Linked DNA regions of Homo sapiens: all the other regions are linked to region 4. The links are contacts of gene promoters, found by promoter capture Hi-C in human tissues and cell types (Jung and others, 2019). All regions are on one chromosome and are shown on one strand. Each heading gives the region's core, a stretch centred on a gene start or on the middle of the fragment in contact. The rest is flanking DNA. Distances are from core to core; before and after follow the strand shown. Region 1 overlaps GRIK4 (glutamate ionotropic receptor kainate type subunit 4). Region 2 overlaps GRIK4 (glutamate ionotropic receptor kainate type subunit 4). Region 3 has its middle 16 kb from the start of TBCEL. Region 4 holds the start of GRIK4 (glutamate ionotropic receptor kainate type subunit 4).

The links. Contacts are between HindIII fragments. The study calls those that stand out against the background at their distance.
Region 1: a fragment that was not itself captured here is called in contact with the fragment with the promoter of GRIK4 in region 4 in 1 of the 25 tissues and cell types used here (lymphoblastoid cells).
Region 2: a fragment that was not itself captured here is called in contact with the fragment with the promoter of GRIK4 in region 4 in 2 of the 25 tissues and cell types used here (dorsolateral prefrontal cortex and lymphoblastoid cells).
Region 3: a fragment that was not itself captured here is called in contact with the fragment with the promoter of GRIK4 in region 4 in 3 of the 25 tissues and cell types used here (H1 embryonic stem cells, dorsolateral prefrontal cortex and liver).

The regions. Positions count from the first base shown.
Region 1 is chr11:120,830,364-120,836,702 of GRCh38, forward strand. GRIK4 (glutamate ionotropic receptor kainate type subunit 4) reads left to right here. Exons shown (of 21, transcript NM_014619.5): 7 at 1,489-1,667. Among named protein-coding and RNA genes, the nearest start is that of TBCEL, 190 kb to the right of the region's middle. RefSeq lists an enhancer at 3,856-4,356. The HindIII fragment of the contact is 5,752 bases long and covers 1-5,746 here.
Region 2 is chr11:120,983,402-120,989,046 of GRCh38, forward strand. GRIK4 (glutamate ionotropic receptor kainate type subunit 4) reads left to right here. Exons shown (of 21, transcript NM_014619.5): 21 at 2,503-5,505. The coding sequence ends at 2,859. Among named protein-coding and RNA genes, the nearest start is that of TBCEL, 38 kb to the right of the region's middle. RefSeq lists a silencer at 2,623-2,702. The HindIII fragment of the contact is 5,250 bases long and covers 1-3,986 here.
Region 3 is chr11:121,005,382-121,011,791 of GRCh38, forward strand. No RefSeq gene overlaps it. Among named protein-coding and RNA genes, the nearest start is that of TBCEL, 16 kb to the right of the region's middle. The HindIII fragment of the contact is 4,795 bases long and covers 903-5,697 here.
Region 4 is chr11:120,510,015-120,515,871 of GRCh38, forward strand. It overlaps GRIK4 (glutamate ionotropic receptor kainate type subunit 4), which reads left to right and starts at 1,734. Exons shown (of 21, transcript NM_014619.5): 1 at 1,734-1,873. RefSeq lists silencers at 1,345-1,424, 1,605-1,804. The HindIII fragment of the contact is 7,551 bases long and covers 1-5,783 here.

The DNA.
Region 1 (6,339 bases), core at 1,621-4,120, 320 kb after region 4:
TCAGAATTCTGGTCCCAGCTGTGTCCCCGTGTCTCTGTTTGCTGAGTAAGTCATGTCACCAATCTGCAATGCGAGGAGGTGGATGGGAGGCTCTCCCTCCTTTTTGGCCTGGGTGGTGAGTAACCTATGCAGGAAAGTCTTCCGGGGTTGTAGTCAAGCCATCCCCGAGTTGAATATCCCATCAGCCAGTACAGAAACCAGCAGCACGGGGCCTTGGACTGGTTACAAAGCCAACCTTTCCCTCGCCATCCCAGTGTGTGAGGCCAGTTGCTCGTCCTTCCTACCTCCGATTCTCCTCTGTGCTGGGGATTATAATACTTTATGGGATTGTCGTGAGGACTTACATGAGATAAGCCATGTAAAATGTTTCGCACATTAACTGGAACACAATAAGCATTTGATAAATGTTGCCCTTATCATTGCTTTTGGGAGCAAACGCCTACGTGATGTCTTTTTCCATGGGAATTGAGACCACACTCTGCCTCCTGCACCCCCACATCACCCCCACCCCCCACATTTCCCTCCCCCACCCCATACACACATACCCTCTGCTGGCTGGCATGCCTTTCCAAAGACAAGGCAGAATTAAGACCCTCATGTCTCAGTGACATCATTCTGGAACCCCTCCTCCCACCAGGGCCCTAGGCATCAAATAGCTGGTGGGTGGGAGAGGAGGGAGTGAGGGAGGGCAGGGGTAGGTCCTTGGTGCACAGTCCCTTTTTTCTGTTTTGTTCTGGGCCCAGATTCTTGCCTGCTGGAGTGCAGTTCAAAGCCTGTTCCCTTATGATCATCATAATACTTTGTCTTAATGCAGCCACAAGGCTCTGAGGAGTTCAAAGCGTTTTACTAGATCTGTTTTCTGGGCCTTGGGATCTTAAGGGAATTGCTCCTCCACCTCCAAAATGAAAACAAAGGCTCTTACAGAGCCCAGTGTAACATTTGTGAGGGTTTAATGTGTCCGAGGCTCGGGCCTGAGCCCTTCACACGTGGCCTCTTGTAATCCTTGCCTTGGACCTGAGTGCTGGCTGCTGTGATAATTCTAACTTCTCAATTGAGGAAACTGAGGCCAAGACAACTGGCCACATGGAGAAGTCCATGAATTAGGGAAGCAGACTCAGGCCTGGTGGTCTCTGAACCCAGGTCTTGGTCTCTGTGCATCCTATCCGGCTTTCGAGGGTGGTGGGGAGGAGGGGGGATTCTCTTATTCCACCCAAGGGAGCTTCCGTCTCTACCTTAAAAGAACGTTCTCGAGGGAGTCAGGGGAGGTGATGGACTCAGAAGTGTTCTTTTATTTTAGATGGGATCATTGAAGCCCAAAGAGGCTGAGAAACCTGCTCAGGTTATGATCTGTCTCCTTAATGCTGTCAGTGGGGCCAGACCCCCCGACCCCACTTCCAGCCCACATCTCCGTGCCTTCCTGCTTCTGCCCAGGTGTCTCTAGAGGCAGCTCTGTGGACCCTCAGGGGCTTCATCCTCTCTCCCCTCCAGGCCTTTTAAACCTAGAGAAGCTGCTCCGGCAATTCCTTATCTCCAAGGACACGCTGTCCGTCCGCATGCTGGATGACACCCGGGACCCCACCCCGCTCCTCAAGGAGATCCGGGACGACAAGACCGCCACCATCATCATCCACGCCAACGCCTCCATGTCCCACACCATCCTCCTGAAGGTGGGAGCCTCCCTCTCTCCCCCACCCCCTGCTGAGCTCCACCCTCCCCCCTCCTTGCCTTGAGGGTCCTCCTGAGCTGAGGCTGACGGAGCCCCGGGCTGGACCTGAACTCTTACAAACCTCTCTCTGTGCTTCTGTTTTCAATGAGCGGTTCCCGAAAAATGAAAGAAGAAAGCAGGGTGAGGGTGATGTCGTTTTCAGCACTGGGGCAGCAGGGCAGTAGGCAACGGAGACACCTAGATGCTGCCAAACTTAGACCCTGCTAAGGGCTCTGTGGAGAGGTCTGCGGGTTCCTAGGAGGGGCTAGGGTGGGGCACCTAAGGGGCTTGGGCAGAGGCTGTCTGCCAAATGGTATAGAAATGGTTCCGTAGTTTAACAACAGGACCATCACACCAGTGTGTACTGCTGAATGCCAGCTCTGTCTTTAGTCCTGACACGGTGCACAACAGTTACACAGCACTTCTGTGTAGTCGATCTCCCAGCGTAGAGCTCTCAGCAATGACATGAGGTAGGTATAATGTCTTCCCTCACAGAAGAGGGAACTGAGACTCTGGGAGATGAACAGATGCGTCCAAGGCCCAGCCCTGAGTGGAGCAGGGCTGAGCCTGCACAACCCTCTCTTATCTGCAAATCAGGTAGTGTCTCCTAAGCTCCTGGAGTTGGAGGGGCAGTGCCAGCCCCTGAGTCAGAACATGCACACTGGAAACCAGAACTCTGTGAGTGAGGCTGATCCAAGAGAGAGAGACGTCGGGAGCCTAGGGGCCCCACACAGGACAAACTGCTGGAAATAGCTGGGTAGCATCGGAGTCACCTGACGTCAGTTCCTGGGCTGGTGGCTGGGCTGGGCATGAACTTCGGAGAGAACGGGCCCCGTTTCCAGGCTCCTTGGCGGCTCCCCCAACCTCTCCAGGCGCACTGGCCTCTTCTAATGCCATTTTAATTGCACGTTTAAGCACAACCTGCCGTCTTCCACTGGGGGAGCGAGGCTCCTCGTTAACCTCTGCCAAGCTGTGAGGAGCCCGCAGACACTCAGATGATTGTCTCCCCTCCTTCCCTCCCTCCCTCCCAGCTGCCCCTCCTCAGCTCGTTTTTGACTCAGAGTTAATAAGAGATTTGAATGAGTTCTCTCAGTACTGAGGGCTGTCCCTTCAGCCCGTTGCTATAGTAATCTTCCAGAGCTCCAAAGCCATGTCTGTCTGTGTGCGTATACCCAACTCACATTATCTCTCTCTCTTTCTTTCTCTCTCTCTCTTTCTCTCTGACACACACACACACACACACACGGAAACACAATATTTTTCTCTTTTCTTCCTTTTCCTCTGTTTTCTCTTATGCCTGGAGCCATGATCAATGAAGTCATTAAGGGTAGAAAAGCTCCACCAAGTTTCACGAGAGGAGAGGGGCCCTCTTTAGGGAAGGTTGGGAGCAGGCAGTGAGAGCTTCAGCTTAGTAGATAGATGTCCCTCCACCACCCTTGTGGAAGGTAGCTCAGAATACACAGGTTCCCCCTGTGGTAGCTGGAGCCTGCCTGAACAGCCCCCAGGTAGAAGCTTCTGGGGGCCAGCCTTGTGCCCTCCATAGCTCCCAGCATCTGATGTTGCACTATTATTTTTTTTATTCGAATAGCATTACTAGTTCATTGTTGAAATTTTGGAACATATAGAACAGAAAGCACATAGAAGAAACTAAAAATTATTCACAATCCTATCACCCAGAGCTATTTAACCACTGTTAAATTTTGATGTCTGTTTTTTTCTGCTTTACAGACACATTTTTCCCCCAAATTATTGTCATACTGCACAAACTTTTCTGTAAGCGCTTTTTGTCCACACTTAATTCTATGCCGTGCATTTTCCCCATGTCATTAAACATTTTTCTAGAAATATTTTAATGGCTGCCTCATTTCCTATCATACAGAGTTCCCATAATTTATTTAACCATCACTTTATTGTTGGAGATACAGGTTGTTTCAAATCTTTTGCTACAATAAATAATGCTGAGGTGCACATCTTTGTACATAAATCTTTATACACATTCATGAATATTTCCCCAGCATACATTTCTAGAAGTGGAATTACTGAGTTAAAGGTACGCATGCTTTTAAGGATTCTGATATGATTTGCCAGATTGCATTTTAGAAAGGCTGTAACAGTTTACACTTTCGCCAGCAGCATATAGGTGTCTTATAGCACCCTTGCCAATACTGGGTATGTTAATTAAAAACACTTTATAGGTGTGTGTGTGTGTGTGTGTGTGTGTGTGTGTGTGTGGCCATGCTTTTGAAGGAAGCTCTGCCTGTAGTGTAGTGATCATTATTAGCAAATGGTTCTGCTCGATGCCTCAGGGCTGTCTTTCCTGAGCTCACCTGTCAGCCCCAACTCCTGTGACATTGGAGCCACACTGATCAATGAGCAGCAAGGCTTCAGGAAAGCCTGTTCCCTTTGCCCATTTGCCTTCCCAATGGCCCAGGCAGGCAGGCGTTCCATCAGGCCTGGCCTCTGTCCTCATGCTTCCCTGGGGCTCCGTACTCTTCCCTCCAGGAGGGCACAACAGGGCCTCTCAGGGCCTCAGCAAGGATGGGAAGCAGAGTGGGCAGGGAGCACACGGGGCCTCTGGGAGACTCAGTGTGCACGTGGGAGTCCAGCCCCTAGAGCTTGGCAACACTCTGCCATCTCTTGATTTCAGGAGGATTTGCAGAGCAATCCCTGATTTTATTGAGCGGCTGTTCCAGCAACGAACTCCATGTTTACCCAGAAATCAGGCCTTAAAAACCAAGGATCTCTTGTCTTTTATCTCTAGGACAGCAGATTTCACAAAGCGGGTTTTAGCTCCCCACTGTGACCCCGCCCGGACCCTCTGCCCCCAGCCTGTCGCTGTAAGCAGCGGGCTCGCTCCGTGGGTCGCATCCGTCTAGGCAGGGGTGAGATGCAGCAGCACTCTTACTTGGACAGTGTGATTGTGTGTGTGCAGTGGGGCGTAGGATGGGTTGGTCATCTTGCCACATCATCCTCTTGAAAGTGAAGGAGGAAATATAGCTTGGCCTGGAGGAAGAAGGAGCCTCACCAAAGAGGCTTTGAGCTCCCTTGTGCCCTGAGACTCCTGCCCCAGTCACTGAGCATTTGCCCTCCAGCTTCCCATTGGAACAACCATGATAGAGTTACCCCCGACCTGCTCCTCAGGGAGCCTGCAAGTGTTCCTATAAGAATCCTATAAGATTACAGGCGCGGTGCCTCACGCCTGTAATCCCAGCACTTTGGGAGGCCAAGGCAGGCAGATCACTTGAGGTCAAGAGTTCAAGACCAGCCTGGCCAATATGGCGAAATCCCATCTCTACTAAAAATACAAAAATTAGCCAGGTGTGGTCGTGGGTGCCTGTAATTTCAGCTACCTGGCAGCCTGAGGCAGGAGAATCACTTGAACCCAGGAGGCGGAGGTTGCAGTGAGCCATGATCGCGCCAATGCACTCCAGCCTGGGTGACAGAGTGAGACTCTGACTCAAAGAAAAAACAAACAAACAAAAAAAGAAGCTCACAAAATTATTTGAGTTCCTTGGGAGATGAACACTATGTAAGAGGAAAAATGTAATCATCCTTGGTCTGGTTTCTCCTCCATCCACCTCAATAGTCATGACAAAACGGGTCTCCCAGTGGCCCAGGGCTGCAGAATACATTATGAAAATCTAGCCGACTGTCAGGAGGGATGAGGGTCCCCAGAGAGAACGGGGCTCATTATTTTCCTGATCTACGTGTCAGTTTCTATAGTACCTGTCACACTCAAAGCCAGGCACACTGACGGGGAAGGTTGGCTAGGGGTATTTATGACGGGTACAAAGATCAGACAAAAGGGAGACTCTTCTGATGTAGCAGTTCTCAACTGTGGAGTGATGCCACACTGATGCGCTGTGATCAAGGGTGAGGCATGCCACAGGCAACTGATTCCTTACGACAAATAAAGGACCCAAGTTTGCAAATGAGTCACTTGTTTCCGACGTCACTGCAGATTCAAGAATACCCTTATGACTCTGCCCTGCACTCTGACAGAGTGGAGTTGATTTGCATTGCTACAACCTACGGACTCTCTTATCTATGCCAGGGCCCCAAAGAGAGTTGTGTTTGTGGTTCCATCAGTGTGACAGTCCTGAAGGGGGAGTATAGAGTTTGGATAAAAGCACTGAAATTAGGCTGCCTGGATTTGCTTTTATCTTTTCCATTAATGAGACATGTGATCTTGTGCAAGTCACTTAGCCTTTCGTTGTGTCAGTTTCCTCAGCTGTAAAATGGGGTTGGGGAGGAATAATAGCGCCAACCTCATAGAGTTATCCCATGTAGAATGCTTGAGAGTGCCTGACACATACTAAACAGTGGGTTAGTGTTAGCCATTGTTATTGTTAATAGCTGTGGAGATCATTATTGTAGTCTTTTTTATTATTTGCTTCATTTCCCTAAAAGTCATTTTGGTTTCAGTAATGTCTGGCTATATCCATGGGAGTATGTTGTGTACAAGAACACCAGCTACTACGCATGCCACTGCAGGGGTAGGGGGCCAGGCGGAGGTGGAGAGACCCCGCTCTTGAGACCAGAATTTCTGTGCTCCATCCTCTAAGATCAAGGGCAACATAAGAACTAATCAAGATGTTCTGTTCTGCCTGGTGCCAAGGGGCAGTGGGCCAGAC
Region 2 (5,645 bases), core at 112-2,611, 470 kb after region 4:
CCGAAAGGCCGATGCTTAAAGGTCTGACCCCTCCCAGTGGACCAAACCAAAGAGAATCTACTGGGCCTTATTGGACTTTGGTGTGTCCCTTGATGATGGGGATACTTTCTTTCAGAATCCCTCTTCCCTTGCCTTGCGTGGCACCCAGCTCTCTTGGTTCCCCTCCTGTTGCTGTCTCCAGCTTTACTGGCTTTTTCCTTTTGCCCACCCCTTAAAAGGTGGTGGTCTTATTTATTCCCTAAGACCTAGTTCAGGTGTTCCCTTCCTTGTGAGTCCTTCCTCATTTCTCCTGCTGTCTCCCAGCAATTGGTCACCCTCCTTCTTCCTGACACCAGTGTAACCTATGCATGAACCACTTACACACCACGCTGCAGTTATTTTGGTATCAGCCCCCTACTAGAGATTGAGCTGCCTGAAGTAAAGACTGTGTCTTTTATCCCTGTGCTTGACATGCAGTAGACAGTCAATAAATCTACATTGTTATAGTATTGTCACATGTAATAGATTAGGCAGGTGGTACTGTTTTTATTGTAGTTATCACTAGAAGCACAGAGAGGTTAAGTGACTTGCCAAGAGTCTCTGCTATTTAGTTAACAATTGGGGGGTGTGATGGGGGCCTATAATCCAAGTCGGGAAAACTAATGTAGGCCTTATTCCATTAAGTGACATCACCTTTCTGTAGCTGCCTCACATTTTGTTATTCTCCCCAAAGCTCACCCATGGTCTGGAAGTATATTGAAAAATTCAGCAAGTAGTTAGAGCAGTCCCAATAGCTAAAATAAAGAGTCAGTGCTATGTTAGCGATTTGGCTGTGGTAGAACAACTATGCCATTGGTAGAATTGGACGAAAGAACATTAAAGAACTGAGGACTTCTGCTCCCATATGGTCTAGGAAAGTGTCCTTTCAACTCAGAGTAGAGCACTCAACAGAGCATGTACAGGCTTGGAGTTGATAGGTTTAGGTCCAAATTCAGAGTCAGCTATTAGTCAATTTTTGGCAACATACATAACTTCTCTGAGCCTCCATTTCCACATTTGTGAAATGGATATAATAATAATAGTAATAGTAGTAATACAGGCCCATCGGCCAGGCACAGTGGCTCACGCCTGTAATCCTAGCACTTTGGGAGGCCGAGGCAGGTGAATCATGAGGTCGGCAGTTCAAGACCAGCCTGGCCAACATAGTGAAACCCCGTCTCTACCAAGAAATACAAAATTTAGCCGGGTGTGATGGCACGTGCCTGTAATCCCAGCTTACTGGAGAGGCTGAGGCAGAAGAATCGCTTGAACCCAGGAGGTGGAGGTTGCAGTGAGCTGAGATTGTGCCACTGCACTCCAGCCTGGGCGACAGAGGAAGACTCTTGTCTAAAAAAAACCAAAAACAAACAAACAAACAAAAATGCAGGCCCATCTATATTCTTTTTTTTTTTTTTTTTTTTGAGATAGAGTCTCAGTCTGTCGCCCAAGCTGGAATGGAGTGCAGTGGCAGGTATCTTGGCTCACTGCAACCTCCGCCTCCCAGGTTTACGTGATTTTCCCCACTCAGCCTCCCGAGTAGCTGAGATTACAGGCACACGCCACCACGCCCAGCTAAATTTTGTGGTTTTAGTAGAGACAGGGTTTCACCATGTTGGCCAGGCTGGTCCCGAACTCCTGACCTCAAGTGATCTGCCTACCTCGGCCCTCCAAAGTGCTGGGATTACAGGTGTGAGCCACTGTGCCCAGCCCTATCCTGTATTCTTCATCCACAGTTCTGACACCTAAAAAGCTTGGAGAGTTCCAAGTTCCTTGTAAGTTTGATGCAAATGCACTCAGCGGCGGCGTGGCTTGGCTGATGTTTGTGGCCTTTATCTCACACGGTGTGAGATGTTGCTACAGAAATATGAGCGGGTTTGAATTCAAGTCTGCCCCAGACCCACCGGGTGTGATACATACTCTACTGTTTGTGCTTTGTATTACCCTCCTCTTGTTTTGGTTATCATGAGGATACATCCACCTCCTGCTATAACCAGTTGGCTAAAAGAAATAAGAATCCTTAGCCTAAGGAACAGAATGTTCATAGAGACATGGTGGCCTTTTCAAATACTTGAGAGACTGACATGTGGTGGAGGAATTATTTATTTAGTAGGCTTCAAGGTCCAAACTTAGCTGGGATCAATGAATGAAAATTTCAGGGACAGAAATTGTTAGCTCGGTAAAAGGAAGCAGCATTTAATGGAAATGTGCAAAAAAAAAAAAAAAGTGAGATCATTGTCTTTGAAGGTGTTCAAACAAAGATTGGAGACCAGCTGGTGGGGCTCTTGAATATTATGGTATGGAGGGTGTTTGAACATTAAATGGGAGTGGAGTGAGGAGATGGACTGAAAGGCTTTTATCATCTTCATACTTAAGATGACACGATTCTGTGACCGCTGCCCCCTTCATCCCTCATCCCAGCGGACTCGCAGGGGGCCCACGGGGGCTGGTTGAGAGGCTGGGCCCTGACCTCGCTGTCTCCTCCAGGTGTCCGTCTGCCAGGAGATGGTGACCGAGCTGCGCAGCATTATCCTGTGTCAGGACAGTATCCACCCCCGCCGGCGGCGCGCCGCAGTCCCGCCGCCCCGGCCCCCCATCCCCGAGGAGCGCCGACCGCGGGGCACGGCGACGCTCAGCAACGGGAAGCTGTGCGGGGCAGGGGAGCCCGACCAGCTCGCGCAGAGACTGGCGCAGGAGGCCGCCCTGGTGGCCCGCGGCTGCACGCACATCCGCGTCTGCCCCGAGTGCCGCCGCTTCCAGGGCCTGCGGGCACGGCCGTCGCCCGCCCGCAGCGAGGAGAGCCTGGAGTGGGAGAAAACCACCAACAGCAGCGAGCCCGAGTAGTCCCGGAGGCCACAGGACGCGCAGAGGCCGGGCGGGGCGGGAGGGGAGGGGCGGGGCGGGCGCTGCTGTCAGCCGCCAGCCGGAACTTGTACAGCGTCGACACCTCTCCAGATTTCGGATCCAGTCACTTTTCAAAAAGATCAAGGAGCCTGACGCCCCAGCCAGAGACCGCGCCCGGTCAGGGAGCAGGGTCCACCCGGAAACGTTGCACCCAAAGGGCAAAGGACGGCCCTCCCTCCTGGGCACAAGGACCCATCTTCTCCCAGTGGGTCTTTCCCTCTCGCCAAAATAACAAGAGTATAGGGTGGGGGGTCCCTACCCAGACCAGTCCAATGAATTGGTGGAATCATCAGTTGAATTTCCCCCTAGTCAGGGGCCAATGTACCCTCCGTCTAGTTCTTACAGAAAAAAAAAAAATTAAACAGGGAAGTTTTTCTTTTCTGGATTTGTATATTTTTGTTAATGTTCTTTTCCCTTTTCTTTCCTCCTCTCCTTTTCTTCTTTGTCATCTTCTCAGTCCTGTTAATTTGTTTTGTGTTTTTTGGAGGGGGAGGCTGGGTTAGGGAATGGAAGCCTAAATAATCCCTATTTCTTCTTTTTCCTGAATTTTGGAATATTGCGTTACCAGTGCATCCGATTTCAGGTGCTTAACTCTCTGTATGGTGACTGAGGGGCCTGCAGGAGCACAGGAGAAGGAGTCTTGGGAAGAATCAGATGGAGAGTCTCAAAAGTCCATTGCAGTAAACTTTGAGATGCCAAAAAGCAATTAACTCATCCTATACTCAGACCTTGAAACGCCTGGAATGTCAAGGGTTAATCTGTCTTTTCTTTCCCTTTCTCTTTCTGACTGTCACTATTACTGGGTTTGATTTGATCTTTTTGTGAATGTAGTCTCTGAAGACAGACAGGGGAGGAGAACAGAATGCACAAAGTATCCTAGGACTTTGTTTAAGGAGCGGAAAGAGCAGATAGAATTTTCCCATACCATGGCCTTGGCTTCCGGTGGAACGTGCCGTTCACAGAGGCGGAAGGACTGGGCCACCCCGTTGGTATGGTGCATACTTTGTCAACTGCATCTCTTTTCAACCAAACTCAAATGAGTGGCTGCCTATGAAGCCAGACCCCCAAGACTATCATGGATTGGGTGGTTTCTTGCTACTTAGACGTGAGACCTGGGTGCAAGTGTATGTGTGTGTATGTGTGCGCGCGTGTGCGTGTGTGTATTTATTCAACAGAAAGACCTTAAGTATTCAAGAATTTGCTAGGTTCCTGGGAGAGAGGTGGAGTCTCCTAGTCAATACACGGGCCTGGGAACCAGGAACTCTTGAGTCGTAACCTCAGCTTGAGCAGTAGCCCTCCCACCTTGTATGACTTTAGGTAAAGCATTTAACTTCTCTTCCATCTACCAAATAGGAGTTACTGATGCTGTCCAGGTTACCAGGTGACTGCTAGTGACTGCTCTCCATGTGAGAAGTTTGCAGAGTCCAGAGCACACATCTGATGGGAGGGGCGAGGCTTTCTACAGCTGCTTGACCTTTGCTTGGCTTCACTAATTGGGAGTTTCACGCAGAGTTCTCATTGGCTGATGGAAAACAAATTCTATGCAATTTCTGATTGTAAACTTAGAAAATTCAGAGAGAAACAAACAGCCGCTACCAACCACCTCCACCTCCACCACCGCTGCCACCACCTTGAATGGAATTGTCCTCACTTTTGTTGCTGTTGCAAATGTACTAAAATAAAGACATCTTTGGAAGATGACGAGCTTAATTCATGTTTTTGCCATTTGGGTTGGTCGGCATCCTCTTTATGCCAGGACAATCAGTTAGGGCTGCCGTCCTGGGGGCCAAATGGTACCCTGATTATTCCTGTGAGGGATACTCGTTTTGTCCTCACCTGACCTCACTCATGAATTTGAATCCTTTATCTTTTTTCTCTTTAACCATCAAATGACAACAAGCTGTGCAAGACACTTGTGTCTTTTTTTAAACCTTGCCTTGATCCTCGTGGAGAAACGTGGATTTGGTGGGAAGGGCACCCGAAGGCCAGCTGACAACAAACCCCAATGGTGCCACTCTGCTCCAACCTGCAGCTCCATCCTATGCTTCTCACAGACAACGTGGTTCCTACTGTCAGATCACATTTGGGGCGGGAAGGGTGGTTTTTTAAAAAAACTCGTTTTTATGAGCAGGCTATCTTGATCAATAGCAAACTTTTTTTAATGGATTAGTGAAATAAATGTCCCCATGCATCATTTATAGTCTGTTTCTTTCTCCGTGTGGAATCAAGATAAGACTGCCAGCACTAGACGGTTTCTGTTAGCTGCTGAGACCAGGGCCTCACCTTGCTCAAGCTAGTGGGTGAATTTGCAACCAGCTAATACTCTTCCTTGGTTTGTTTCCACTTTTTATCTGTTGGTTGTTGGCTTTCTTTTCCATTCTGTATTTTCTATCTGACTCTGTATACTGTATAAAGCAGTTTTTTCTTGTCTGTTTATCTTTCTTCAACTGGAATATTTACAATAAAACAGAAACAAATCCTGAAATGTTAGTGATGGATGACAGCTGTTTGGGTTTAGAAAGTATGGTTCAGTGTGTCTAATATCCAGGTACTAGACTTGAAAAGCAAATAAAATCATAAACCCACTTTTTGTCTTCCCCTCCACCTGCCCTCTCTGTCTCCTTCTCTCCACCTCCCTCTCTACTCCCCCACCCGCTTTGGCTCTTTGTTCAGATCCCAGAAAAGTCTAGGTGGCTTCTTTCAATTTTTAGTCCTAGGAGCCTGAG
Region 3 (6,410 bases), core at 2,050-4,549, 500 kb after region 4:
TCTTATTTATTTAATGAAAAAATATTCTTCATGCTCCCACAAAATAGGGTCATTGTTACACATTTAGTATAAAGTGATTAAAAATTAGTATTTTTAAAATTATAGGTAGTGATGCATTTTTTTAAAGTAGCACCTATGTGTTTGAGAACTGTTGTTTATTCAGGGTTTGGTGCACGGGGGGATTTGCAGACCCCTTGTGAAGAACTCTCCAGGCCCCTCTGAGCCTGAGTCCACATCTAGAGAAACCTTGCCTCCCTGCAATCCTGTGTCTGGTGGAGCAGTAGTCAGTTACTTGGTAAAAGGTGTCCATGACAAAGGGTTCCAAGGCCAAACATACTGCACAAAATATACTTAAGCCATTATTTTCTTTTGCAGAACTTGGCGGAGCATTTATAATGCAAATGTGTACAGTGACTCTCCAAGAGGGTGATATGGGATGGTGCCTTTCACAGACATTTTTGACAAGAGCTGTGGCGTGTGTGCATGTATGTGTGCATGTGTGTTTGTGTGTGTAAAGCACCTGTAGCAACTTGGGAACATGAAGGCTTGAAAACGCACCTTTCTTGGACCTCCTCTTCCTGCATGTCAGTAGCTTGTAAAGCTTCTCTGCTGCTTTAGTACTACTGTTTGCCAGCACTGCTGTCGGCCCTCATGCTACCCATTCCAGGTACTACAGAGCTGCCCCTCTTAGGATACTATGATCCTTTGAATGAACTCTGCAAAGTATTGCTTCACTCTTTGAGATTACAAACTCTTGGGTGAAGAGAGTTGGAGAAAATTCCCAAGGTATGGCCCGGAGGGGTTTGATCCCTAACCTGTTGATATGGGTTGGCTGTGTCCCCGCCCAAATCTCATCTTGAGTTGTAGTTCCCATAATCCCCATGTGTCATGAGAGGGATCTGTTGGGAAGTAATTGAATCATGGGGACGGTTACCCCCATGCTTCTGTTCTTATGATAGTGAGTTCTCATGAGATCTGATGGTTTTATAAGGGGCTTTTCCCCTTTTGCTCAGCACTTCTCCTTCCTGCCATCATGTGAAGAAGGACATGTTTGCTTCCCCTTCCACCATAATTGTAAGTTTCCTGAGGCATCCCCAGCCATGCTGAACTGTAAGTCAATTAAACCTCTTTCCTTTATAAACTACCCAGTCTTGGGTATGTTTTTATTAGCAGCATGAGGACAGACTAATACACCTGTATAAGCTTTCCTCCCTTGCACACCACACTATGGTGACTCAAAAGGATCTGAGCACCTTGACTCTTATCTCCCTCCCAGGTAAATTCTCTACTCATTCCGGAAGCTGGGAAAATCTTTCCCCACTTATTTTTAGTGTGCTTTAATTTCATTATCTTCTTACCCTGCTGGCAACAAGAATACCAACTTCTCATATAATAAGGCTCCCAGCAACCTGTTCCAGAGTTTCTCAAGGGGACAAACTATTAACCTTTTTCCTATTTTTCATTAAAGACATATTTATAGAGTGCCTATCTGAGCTAGGTATCTATAGAGATAGAGATAAGTATATTTTGGAGGTAGACAGCATTTGGTAGAATCAAAAATGATTCCATCTTACTGGATTCTTTAGTAACTGGTGTGGAAAGTGATACTGTTTACTAAAATAGGGAAGATTAGATTGGGAAAGGAGGAAGGGAGGGGACTGAGATTTCTCGCTGGGGCATGTTAAATTTGAGATGCATATGGGCTATCTAAGTGGAAATATTTAATAGGCAGTTGGATATGCAAGTCTGGATATGCAAGTCTGGTGGCCCAGAGATGTCTGGGCTCCTTATTTAGAATTTATCAACATGAAGATGTTATTTAAATTAGGGCAATAAATGACATGACCTAAGGAGAAACTGGAGCAAGAAAAGAGAGAAGAAGCCTTAGAACTGAACCCTAAGCAACTCTAACATTTGGAAGTAGGATACAGGAGGAAAACTAAAAAGGAGCAGTCAGTGTGAAAGAGGAAAACCAGAAGCAAGTGATGTATAAGGGCCAAAAAGAAGGGAGGGGCTAAGTGAATCAAATGCTACTATGAATTTAAAGTGAACACAGCTAACTAACCATTGGCAAGCCTCGCAAGCATGGTTTCAGTGGAGAGTGGTAGAAAGAGAATCCAGATTGGAGTAAACTGAAGAGTGAATGGTGAGAGAGGAAGCAGAGTTAACATGTGCAGTGACTATTTTAAAGGAATTTTGCTGAGAGGGGAGCATAAAAATAGAGCAGTAGAGAAGAGGGTACAGCATGTGAAGTCAATAAGGGAAATACTAGAGCATGCTGACACTGCGATGGCAATGATCTACTAGAGACAAGAGATGGTAACGCATGAAAAGAAGGGGGAAGTCGAACGGTGGAAAGAAAAACTCCAAACACAAATGGTGGAACTGGCCTTTGATAGGTGAAGGGACAGGCCCTTCATTTTAACAGAAGGAGAAAGGGGCTGGGTGCAGGTCGGCAAGGAGGAAGAAGATAAGTACATCACACTGATGGCATTTATTTTTCCTAATGTGCTCTGAAGTGAGCTCAGCAGGAAGATGAGGGACACGGGAAAGTGAGGAGACACAAAGTCATCTTAAGGAGTGAAGGAAATCAGTAAGATGAGCAAGCAGTACCAAGTACCCGTTTACAGTTGGAGATGAGGTTAAAGAGCAGCCAGTCAGCTCAGGTGTGTGATTCTCCCTGACAGTGTTCAGCAACTCTGGTACTGGCACAGTTAGGTTTACCTCAGGTCTTGCCCTGCAAGATGGACAGAGAACAACAAGAGGGGACTAGAATTGGGGATATTTGCAAGGGAGTGTATGGACAGGGCCCCAGGTTCTGTAAATTCTTGAGTCTTGTCCTGCCATAGCCATATAACCAATTCTTCACTTCCTTTTCCCCACTATAATATTTGCTGTACATATATATCAAATATATACACATACACATACATATGTACACACACATGTAAGAGACAAGGACGTTCTTTCTTTTGTGAGGCCTTTGCCTTAAACCTTCTCCTTGACAAATTCTGGGTCTAATGGGGTCACATATAAAAAAAGATACTTATAAAAGCTATAATAGAAGAATGAATAAAGGATTTGGGAACATAATGGAAGGAGCAATTCAATTTTGTCTGGTAGGTGGGGCTGTCTTCACAGATAAATGGACGTATCGTGTCTTCTCAGATTTAAAGACAAGAGCTTTCATTTAGGTCTTGATGTTCAATAGAAACTCACTTAAGAAGATAGAAAGAATTTAATAGCTAACATTTATTTAATGTTTAACTATGTGCCAAGCACTAAGAACTTTACATACTTTAGCCATTTAATCTATGAATAAGTTCTATTTTTATCCCTATTTTTCTGGCAAGGATTAGAGATGTTGATTACTTTTCTATGAAGTGGCCCATATGGGACTGAAACCCAGGTCTTCCTGATGTTGAAAGCCTAGAAGAGGGAACAGCACCAGCAAAGGCCCAAGGAATGTGAAAATGCATGAGATGTTCATGTAAGGGAAAACCTGGGGTGATGGGAGACAACAAATAGAAACTCAGGTAAGAAAATGCTAGATGGTAATTCAAACCTGTATGAAGATATAAAGATCTCCAGTGAAGGTAAATACATGGGAAAATATAAAAGCCAGTATTACTGCAATCTTGTGTTGCAACTTCACTTTTTATTTTCTACAGGATTTAAAAGACAAATGCATAAAAATAATTATAAATCTATATTAATGGGTATAGGGATGTAATTTGTTATATTAGTAACAATAAGGGCAGAGCTGTAAAGGAGCAAAGGGTTTGTATGTGATTGAAGTTAGGTTGGTATCAATTTAAAACAGATTTATATAACTTTAGGATGTTATAGGTAATCCCAGTTATAACCACAGAGAAAATATCTATAGATTATAGACATCTATAGATTATAGACAAAAGGACGTGAAAAGGGAATCAAAATATGTCACTACCAAAAAGCAACTAAATAGAAGAGAAGGTGGTAATGGAGGTAATGAAAAACAAAAAGTTTAAGACATATGGAAAACAAATAACAAATGGCAAAAGTTAGTCCTTTTCTATCAGGAATTAACCTCCCAATTAAAAAAGTATAGATTAGTGGAAGGGTTTTTTTTAAAAAAACAGAATCCAATGATACTCTCTACAAGACACCCCATCATAAGTTGAGAAACATCTGTATAAAAGAGTATTAGGAAGAGTTGTATACCAACAAAGTGGATAAGTGAGATGAAATGGACACTGTTATAGAAACATACAATCTACCAAGACTAAATCATGAAGAAATTACAATTTTGAATAGACCTATAATTAGAAAAGAGATTGAATTAATAATCAAAAACTTCCCAACAAACAAAACCCCAGACCAGATGGAATCATTTAATTCTACCAAACATTTAAAGAACTACACCAATCCTTCTCAAACTCTTCTAAAAAATTGAAGAGGAAGGAATACTGCCTAACTCATTCTATGAGACCAGTTTATGTTAATACCAAAATTAGACAACGATACTACAAGAAAACACAAACCAATATTCCTTAGAAATATTGATGCAAAAACCCTCAACAAAATGTTAGCAAACCTAATTTAAAGTATATCACAACGATTATACACCAAGATCAAGGTGAATTTTTCCCCAGAAGGCAAAGATGGGTTAGAATATGAAAAATCAATGTAATTCTACCACATTAACAAAATAAAGGAAAAAAGACACACCATTGTCTAAACTGATGCAGAAAAATAATCTGACAAAATTCAACACCCTTCCATGATAAAACACTTAAAAAGAAAAACAGGAATAGAAGGAAACTACCTCAACATAATAAAGGCCATATGTGAAAAATCCACTGCTAATATCATATTCAATGGTGAAAGACTGAAAGCTTTTCTTCCAAGATTAACAACAAGACAAGGGGCCGGGCGCGGTGGCTCATGCCTGTAATCCCAGCACTTTGGGAAGCCAAGTCAGGAGTTTGACACCAGGCTGACTAACATGGCAAAACCCTGTATCTACTAAAAATACAAAAATTTTTGTATTTTTACAAAATTTTTTTTTGTAAAATGGGCATGGTGGTGCATACCTGTAATCCCAGCTACTCAGGAGGCTGAGGCAGGAGAATCACTTGAATTTGGGAGGCGGAGGTTGCAGTGAGCCAAGACCGAGCCATTGCATTCCAGCATTCCAGCCTGGGCAAAAAGAGCAAAACTCCATTAAAAAAAAAAAAAAAAAAATCAAGACAAGGATGCTCACTTTTGCCACTTTTATTTAACACAGAGTTGGAAGTACTAACCAGAGCTATTAGGTTAAAAAAGGAAGAAAGAAAAGGGCATCCAAATTATAAAGGAAGAAGTAAAAATTATCTGTTTCCAGATGACATGATCCCATATGTAGAGAACCCTAAAGAATTCCTCCCAAAACTTTTAGAACTAAAAACAAACTCAGCAAAATTTCAGGACACAAAATCAAGATGCAAAAATCAGTTGCATTTCTATATACTAACAATGAACAATCAGAAAGTGAAATCAAGAAAATAATTTCCTTTATGATAATATCAAAAAGAGGCTGGGAGCAGTGGCTCACGCCTGTAATCCCAGCACTTTGGGAGGCCAAGGTGGTTGGATCACCTGAAGTCAGGGGTTCAAGACCAGCCTGGCCAACATGGTGAAACCCCATCTCTACTAAAAATACAAAAATTAGCTGGGCATGATGACAGTCGCCTGTAATCCTAGCTACTTGGGAGACTGAGGCAGGAGAATTGCTTGAACCCGAGAGGCAGAGGTTGCAGTGAGCCGAGATTGTGGCATTGCACTCTAGCCTAGGCAACTGAGCAAAACTCCATCTCAAAATAATAATAATAATAATAATAATAATAATATCAGAAAGAATAAAATACTTAGGAATAAACTTAACTGGGAGGCAAAATATTTTTACACTGAAAAACACAAAATGTTACTGAGAGAGATGAAAGAAGACACAAATAAATGAAAAGCTATTCTGTGTTCATGGATTGGAACACTTAACATTGTTAAGATGTCTATACTGTGAAAAGTGATCTACAGATTGAATAAAATTCCGATGACTTTTTTTGTAGAAATAGAAAAATCCATCCTAAAATTAATATGGAATCTCAAGGGATCCTTAATAGCCAAAACAATCTTGAAAAAGAAGAACAAGGCTAGAGGTCTCACACTTTCTAATTTGAAAACTTGTTACAAAGCTACAGTAACCAAAACAACATGGTAGTGGCATAAAGACAGACAAAGACCAATAGAATAGAATAGAGAGCTTGGAAAAAAAACCCTTGCATATATGGTCAATTAATTTTCAACAAGGGTGCCAAGACCATTCAATGGGGAGAGGGTAGTCTTCAACAAATGGTGCTGGAAAAACTGGATATCCACATGTAAAATAATGA
Region 4 (5,857 bases), core at 484-2,983:
CATTCTTCCCGTGAAAGGGGCCAGGGATCCATGCTTGGCATTTCAGAGTTTGCGCGGCTTGAGAGATCATCTAGTCTGCTTCCCTCACTTTTAGAGTTATGGGAACTGAAGTCCAGGGAAGTGAAATCGCTTGCTGGGATCACAGGGATGCCTCTCCCTCCTCCCAGCCCCGTACACTTTCTGCTAGGCTTATGCTGCTGTTCCGTCCATTTTGCACAAGAGAGGGGGTTCCAGAGTGGGGGAATAGAGTTGGAATTAGAAATTAGTTTTGTGTCACTGGCTTACAGGTGCTCTTAAACCTTAACAGGTTTAACATCCTCTGTAAAATGGGACTAGTGTCACCTCAACACCTACCTTGCAAAGTTGATTATTGGGAATCACACTTGTGTAAGCGGTATAGTCTTGGCAAACAGTAGGTGCTAAATAATGTCTGGCTGGAGGAATGGAGCCCTGTTCGCATATGGCATTCATCCAGCCAGTGTGTGGAGCTGGGGGAGGGATAGGCACGACTCCTGAAGCAGGAGGCCCAGTACGCGCCCAGGCTAGCCAGCCAGCCCTCCCCGGGGAATGCAACGTCCAGAACAGTCTATAGTCCCGATAGTATGCCTCATGCGTGAGACCTGACCAAGGACGTCTGTGAACAAACCCTTCACAGAGAGCTTAATGAGATTGTGGGAGTGCTGGTGGTTGGGTGTGGGGATACAGGCCATTGAAGGTGAGAGGGCCGGTGTGATCAGTTTGGTGGTCTGCCCAAGACAGAGACTCTGCGGGTTGGATAAGAGGGAGCTAATAGGTTTGAGGGGGTCACGTGTCCCTTGCCCTCCCTCCTATTCCCCCAGGACTCCCTCTTCACCCAGCCTCCTCCTAAGGGCAACTCTGTTGTATTAGGATGAACCACACGGTGTACTGAAATGAACCGCGCGTCAGAAAGCGGGGTTGCCTCCTGGGTCCTGCCACTTGCTCCCCGTGTGTTCTTGGCCTGGTCCCTTCACCTCTCCTAGCCTCAGGATCTTCATGCGTAACATGAGATCCTCCCAAGATGTTGGTATGTATACAACAGTGCTCTGGAATGACTCCATGCAAGCTGTTGCTCTTCAGTCTCCTGAACAAGGTGCTCTTGTCTCGTCCCATGAAACCTCCACCTCTCCATCTTCCGCACCACTGAGGCCGCAGTCTCTTCTAACGGGGCACGCTCGTCCCCCGCGCTGTTTCCCGAATGCCACCAGGGGGCGCCCCTTGCTCGCTGAAGCCGCCGGGCTAATAACTCCTCGGGGCCGGGGCGGGCTGCCCCTTTGCGCAGGGCGGTGGAGTGTGCGGGCTGCGCCGGGTTCCCCACCTGAGGTCCGTACCTCGCAGAGCCCGCTTGGCCGCGCGCCCCTAGCCTCTGCCGGGCGCCGCTCCCCAGCCGGGCGCCTCTCGCTCGGCCCCGGGCCCCCGGGCAGCCGCAAGTTTGCCCCCGGCCGCGCGGACCCGCGCCCGCCCTGCCCGCAGCAGCCCCCGCCGTTCCCGCCGCCCCCGCCGCCCCCGCGCCTGGGCTCCCGGGCGACGCTCCGAGGGGCGCTGGGGGGCGCGTGCAGCTGCCCGCGGGGCTCCGGCCCGGCCCCGAAGGGGCGCCCCCCCGGCCGGCCGTGCGCGGGGCCGCAGCAGTTCCCCAGCTGCCCGCCGGGCGGCGCCCCGCGCCTCGCTGCGCTCCTCCCGCGCTCCCCGCGCCGGGCTCGCTCGCAGCCGGACACAGACTGCCTTCAGCTGCGGGCGGATCGGGCTGGAGCCGCCACGGCTGCTGCGGAAGAGGAAAAACGGCCAACAGCAGCCCCGCGGCCGGCCCGGCAGCGCCCGGCCCCCGGCTCAGCCCCCGGAGTGCGGAGCCGACCAGGTAAGGGCAGCGGCCCCCCGCGGCGCCCCCGGCCCGCTCCCTGCGCTGCCCCCGCGCCCCCGAGTCCCCTCCGCGCTGGCCCTTCCCGCACCCCGACTTCTGACGTCTCCGCCGCTCCTGCCCTCGGGGGCCGCGGCCCCGCACCCCTGCCCCGGCCCCCGCCCCCGCGCCCTCCTCCCCGCTCCCGCCTCCCGCCAGCCCGGTCCCTGGCACTTCGGTCCCTGCGTCTCCAGATTCGCCGCCGAACCCCCCACCGCTCTGCTCCCGTAGTTCCTCCAGTCTTCACCCCGGTCCGTCTCCCTCCCTCCGCATCCCTTCCCCGGGCTCGCGGTCCTCCCGCTCTGGTCCTCCCCCTCCCCGTGCAACTCCCAGCCCTGCCTCTGTCCCCTGCAGGGATGACAGCCCCTTCCCAGCCTGGCGCGTCTCCCCTACACCTCGTCACCCTCCGCTTCTCCCAGCGCCTCTGTTCCCCGGCTGCAGCCCCCCATCCCGGCTCAGCCTGGCATCCCACCAAGCCCCCTCCCCCTTTCCTCACTGCCATCTGCCTCGACTGCCCCCTGCCCCTGCACTGGACTCGGGCCACCACCACACCCCCCCACCCTGCACACCGCCTTGCTTGGGGGAACCAGCGTCCTATCAGAAATGATCCTCTTTCCCGGGGAGAATGGGGCTCCCACCCATCCCACCCTAGTTCATCCGAGTGGGAAGTGAGGGAGAAACTCTAGAGACCTGCAATGGGCGCGTGATGGGGGAGGGGGCTGGGGCGGAGGGGGAGGGGAGCTGATTTAGATTCTCTTCAGTGAGGACTGGCAGAGCTGTGCGCTCCGACCTGGCTGGGGTGGAGGGCGTGCAGGCGACAGCTGGGACAGGGGGTTCAAGGCACTGAGAGCACCTGTGTCTCTTTCCCTGGCTCCCTTGAGCTGAGCAAAGTGAGGGGAGGAGTTGGAGCCTGGGGAGAGTTGGCTGAGGGCCTTGGGGTGGTGGAGGAGGCGGCCGAGGGGGCTGGGCCCCGGGCGCCTCTGGCCCGTCTGCCTGGCAGTGGTGGGGCAATGCGGGCCGAGCCACTCCCGGGCTGGACCTTGGGCTGCGTGGCTCTTGGCATCTGTACTTGATGCTGCCATCTTCCTCTTGGTGCTGTTGTCTGGTGATGCCACGCGGTGCCACCTCCCTGCCTCCCTCCAGTGGCTCTCCTGGGCATGTCTCCCAAGGGTCTGGGTTGTCTGGGAAGAGGAGGGGAGCTCTGAGCACAGCTGGGCCCTTTTGCCAGGCAGTGGGCAGCTGTCAAGACCAGGCCAAGAGGTCTGAGGGCTGGTCAGGAGGACTGAGCCCTGCCAGGAACAAAGAACTACCTTCACTTTCACTCCCTATGGGTCACCTGGTTGGTAGTGACACTTCTAGGAGCACCGGGAAACTGCGGGCGTGGTATCTCCGGGGAGAGAGGCCGCCTGGGTTGGTAGTGGGCATCTGAGAGACAAATCCGGTCCTGCCTGACTCCCTGACTGTCTGTGCTCGCGTGGTCAGGGGCGAGGGGCTTGTCGAGGTCCACTGTGTTCCGGTCCCACCAGGGATGGCAGCCCCTGGAATTCCACTGGGCGTCATCATGCTGGCTTTATTTGCTGAAGCTGCAGCTCAGGCTTCATCATTAATCAGGTTTATTATTTTTCTCACTGGCCAGATGTGTTCCTCAAGGTCACGACCCTTCGGAGAGTTAATCTAATATGCACACATTACAGTGTCTGGGTTTGTTTAATTTTCCATATTTTGTTCATTCCTTGTGGCCCGGGCTTGCCCACCAGCCTCCCGCCTGCCTCACCAGCTCCACCCCTCTGTCCTCCTCTGGACCTGCCACCTGAAACCCAGAGGCAGCACTGGTCCCTCCGGGTGGGGAAGAGGTGGATGCTCGGGAGGGGAGGTTGAGAGGGGATCTTGGTTTTCTGTGTTTTTCCCATCCCCCTACCTGGGCATCTTGATCGGTGGCTGCTGTCTTCCCCAGCAATGAAAATTCTTCCGAGAGCCTGGGTCGGCTTCGTGGTCTGATTTCCACTTTGGTTTTCCCTTAGGATGGAGAGGGAACTTTAGTACCGGGAGAGAGGCAGAGACTCTAGGAGAAAGTCCCAGCTGCAGGGAGTCAGGGCATCCAGGAGAGAGGAGCTCAGCTGCTTCTGAGGTGGTTCTCAGCCATCCAGAGATGGAAGGGAGGACAGGGGGACCGGCCCTGGGTTGGGGGAGAGACTGCTCAGAAGGCAAGAGAAGCAGCGAGGCGGAAGCTGGCCTTTGTGTGGCTGGCGAGGGTGGGCAGCGCCAAGCGTGTGTGGGAAGGATGCATCTCTTGGTGCTTCTGCATAGTACTAATCCCTTATGTGTGTATGGGGTTCTGCAGCATTCCAGATGCCTCTCAGAACAATTACTTCATTTGATCTCTACTACAGCCCTGCAAGCATCTGATCGCTCCTTACAGACAGCCTTATAAGGAGGCATTCATGACCCAACAGAAACTGAGGCTCAGAGAGGCTGGATGCCTCATCCAAGGCTCCACAGCTGGGTCCCAGGCCCCTGGACGCTCAGTCCAGTGCTGTTGGGCTCGTTGCTGTTGCTTTTTAAGGTCTCAGCTGTTTGGTTCTCAGAAAGCCCACCCTTGGTCCTGCCTGTTCCTCAGTTCATCCCCTTCGCCCTCTCCAGTGATGGCTCACCGTTTTCACCCCCACCCCAGGCCTGGTGGAGTCTTTGCTCTGTAGTCTCCTCAGCCTTAGACTGGCTGCCTGGGTGTCCCGCCACTCCCTAGACCCAACCAACCACCCCCTACCCCAAGTGGGCACTGCCTCTTGCCTCCTCCTTGTGGAAAGAACGGCTGGGTTCCCCCAGGCATGCAGCCGGGGTGCCTGGGGCACCCTCCTTCCCTCTCTCTGGTGCCTTAGGCCTCAGCCCACTCAGTTCTTCTGGGCACTTCGAGTGTCCACTCCGACCTTTGCTCTCCCACTGCCGTGGTCCCTACTTGGGCCTTTGGCTGTTCACCCTGAGTTACGGTCCTGAAAGCTTCCTTGTTGGGCCTCCAGCCTCAGTTTCCAGCCATCCTGCCGCTGTGCCTGTCTTCTTACAGAGGGTAACGCTTCTCACAGGGGACCCTGTCTCAGCAGCCGTCAGTGGCAGTGCCTTCCAAGATGCCTTGCAGGTGAAGGCCCTCTGCACGCTGACCCCAACTTTATGTCACAACGTGGTGTCTGGCATGATCTTGTCCCCCCTCCCCTGGCCACCCAGCCCTGGCACTGTGTGTCCTCACCCTGGCCCTTTGCATTTCCTCCTCTTTTCCTCCCATCCATATATTGCCCAGCCTTCAAGGTGCTGCTGGAAGAGGAACCAGTTCCAGCTACCAAGTATCAGGCAGACCTGGGTTCCTGTCCTCACATCACTCCCTGCATGACCTCGGACAAGTTGCCTCACCTCTCTGAGCCTCACTGCCCTCACCTGTAAAATGGGGACTCTGAGCCTCACTGGCCTCACCTGTAAAATGGGGATAAATCTCACCTGCTTCAGAGGGTTAGCAGCATGGAATGTGAGTGGGAGTGTGACTCGTCCAGTGTGAAGGGCACCTGCATGGGTATGGAGGGCACATTCTCTGAGTGGCCGCCTTCTGCTCTCCCTCTGTATGGGCTGGCTGAGCCCCCTGCTCCTACCTGGTATTGGTAATCGTCTGTCCGTTTGTCTCCCCACCCAGAGGGCAGATTCCTGGAGGAGCAAGGCCTTTGCCTGACACCTTTTCACATTCTCTGACTCCCAGCAGAGCGAGGCTGTTCTTCAACATCCTGTAAATCGGCCCTCTTCATAGTAAGGACATAAGATATAGTTGTTGCTTGATTATAACGTTCTGTTACATAAAATAGGGTATGCCTTACATTTAGTAAATCCAGTATGAACAAAAAACTTATGCCACAGTTGCAGGCTGGGTAAATTATGGGAAGGAAGGAAGGAATCAATGTAACATTGTAT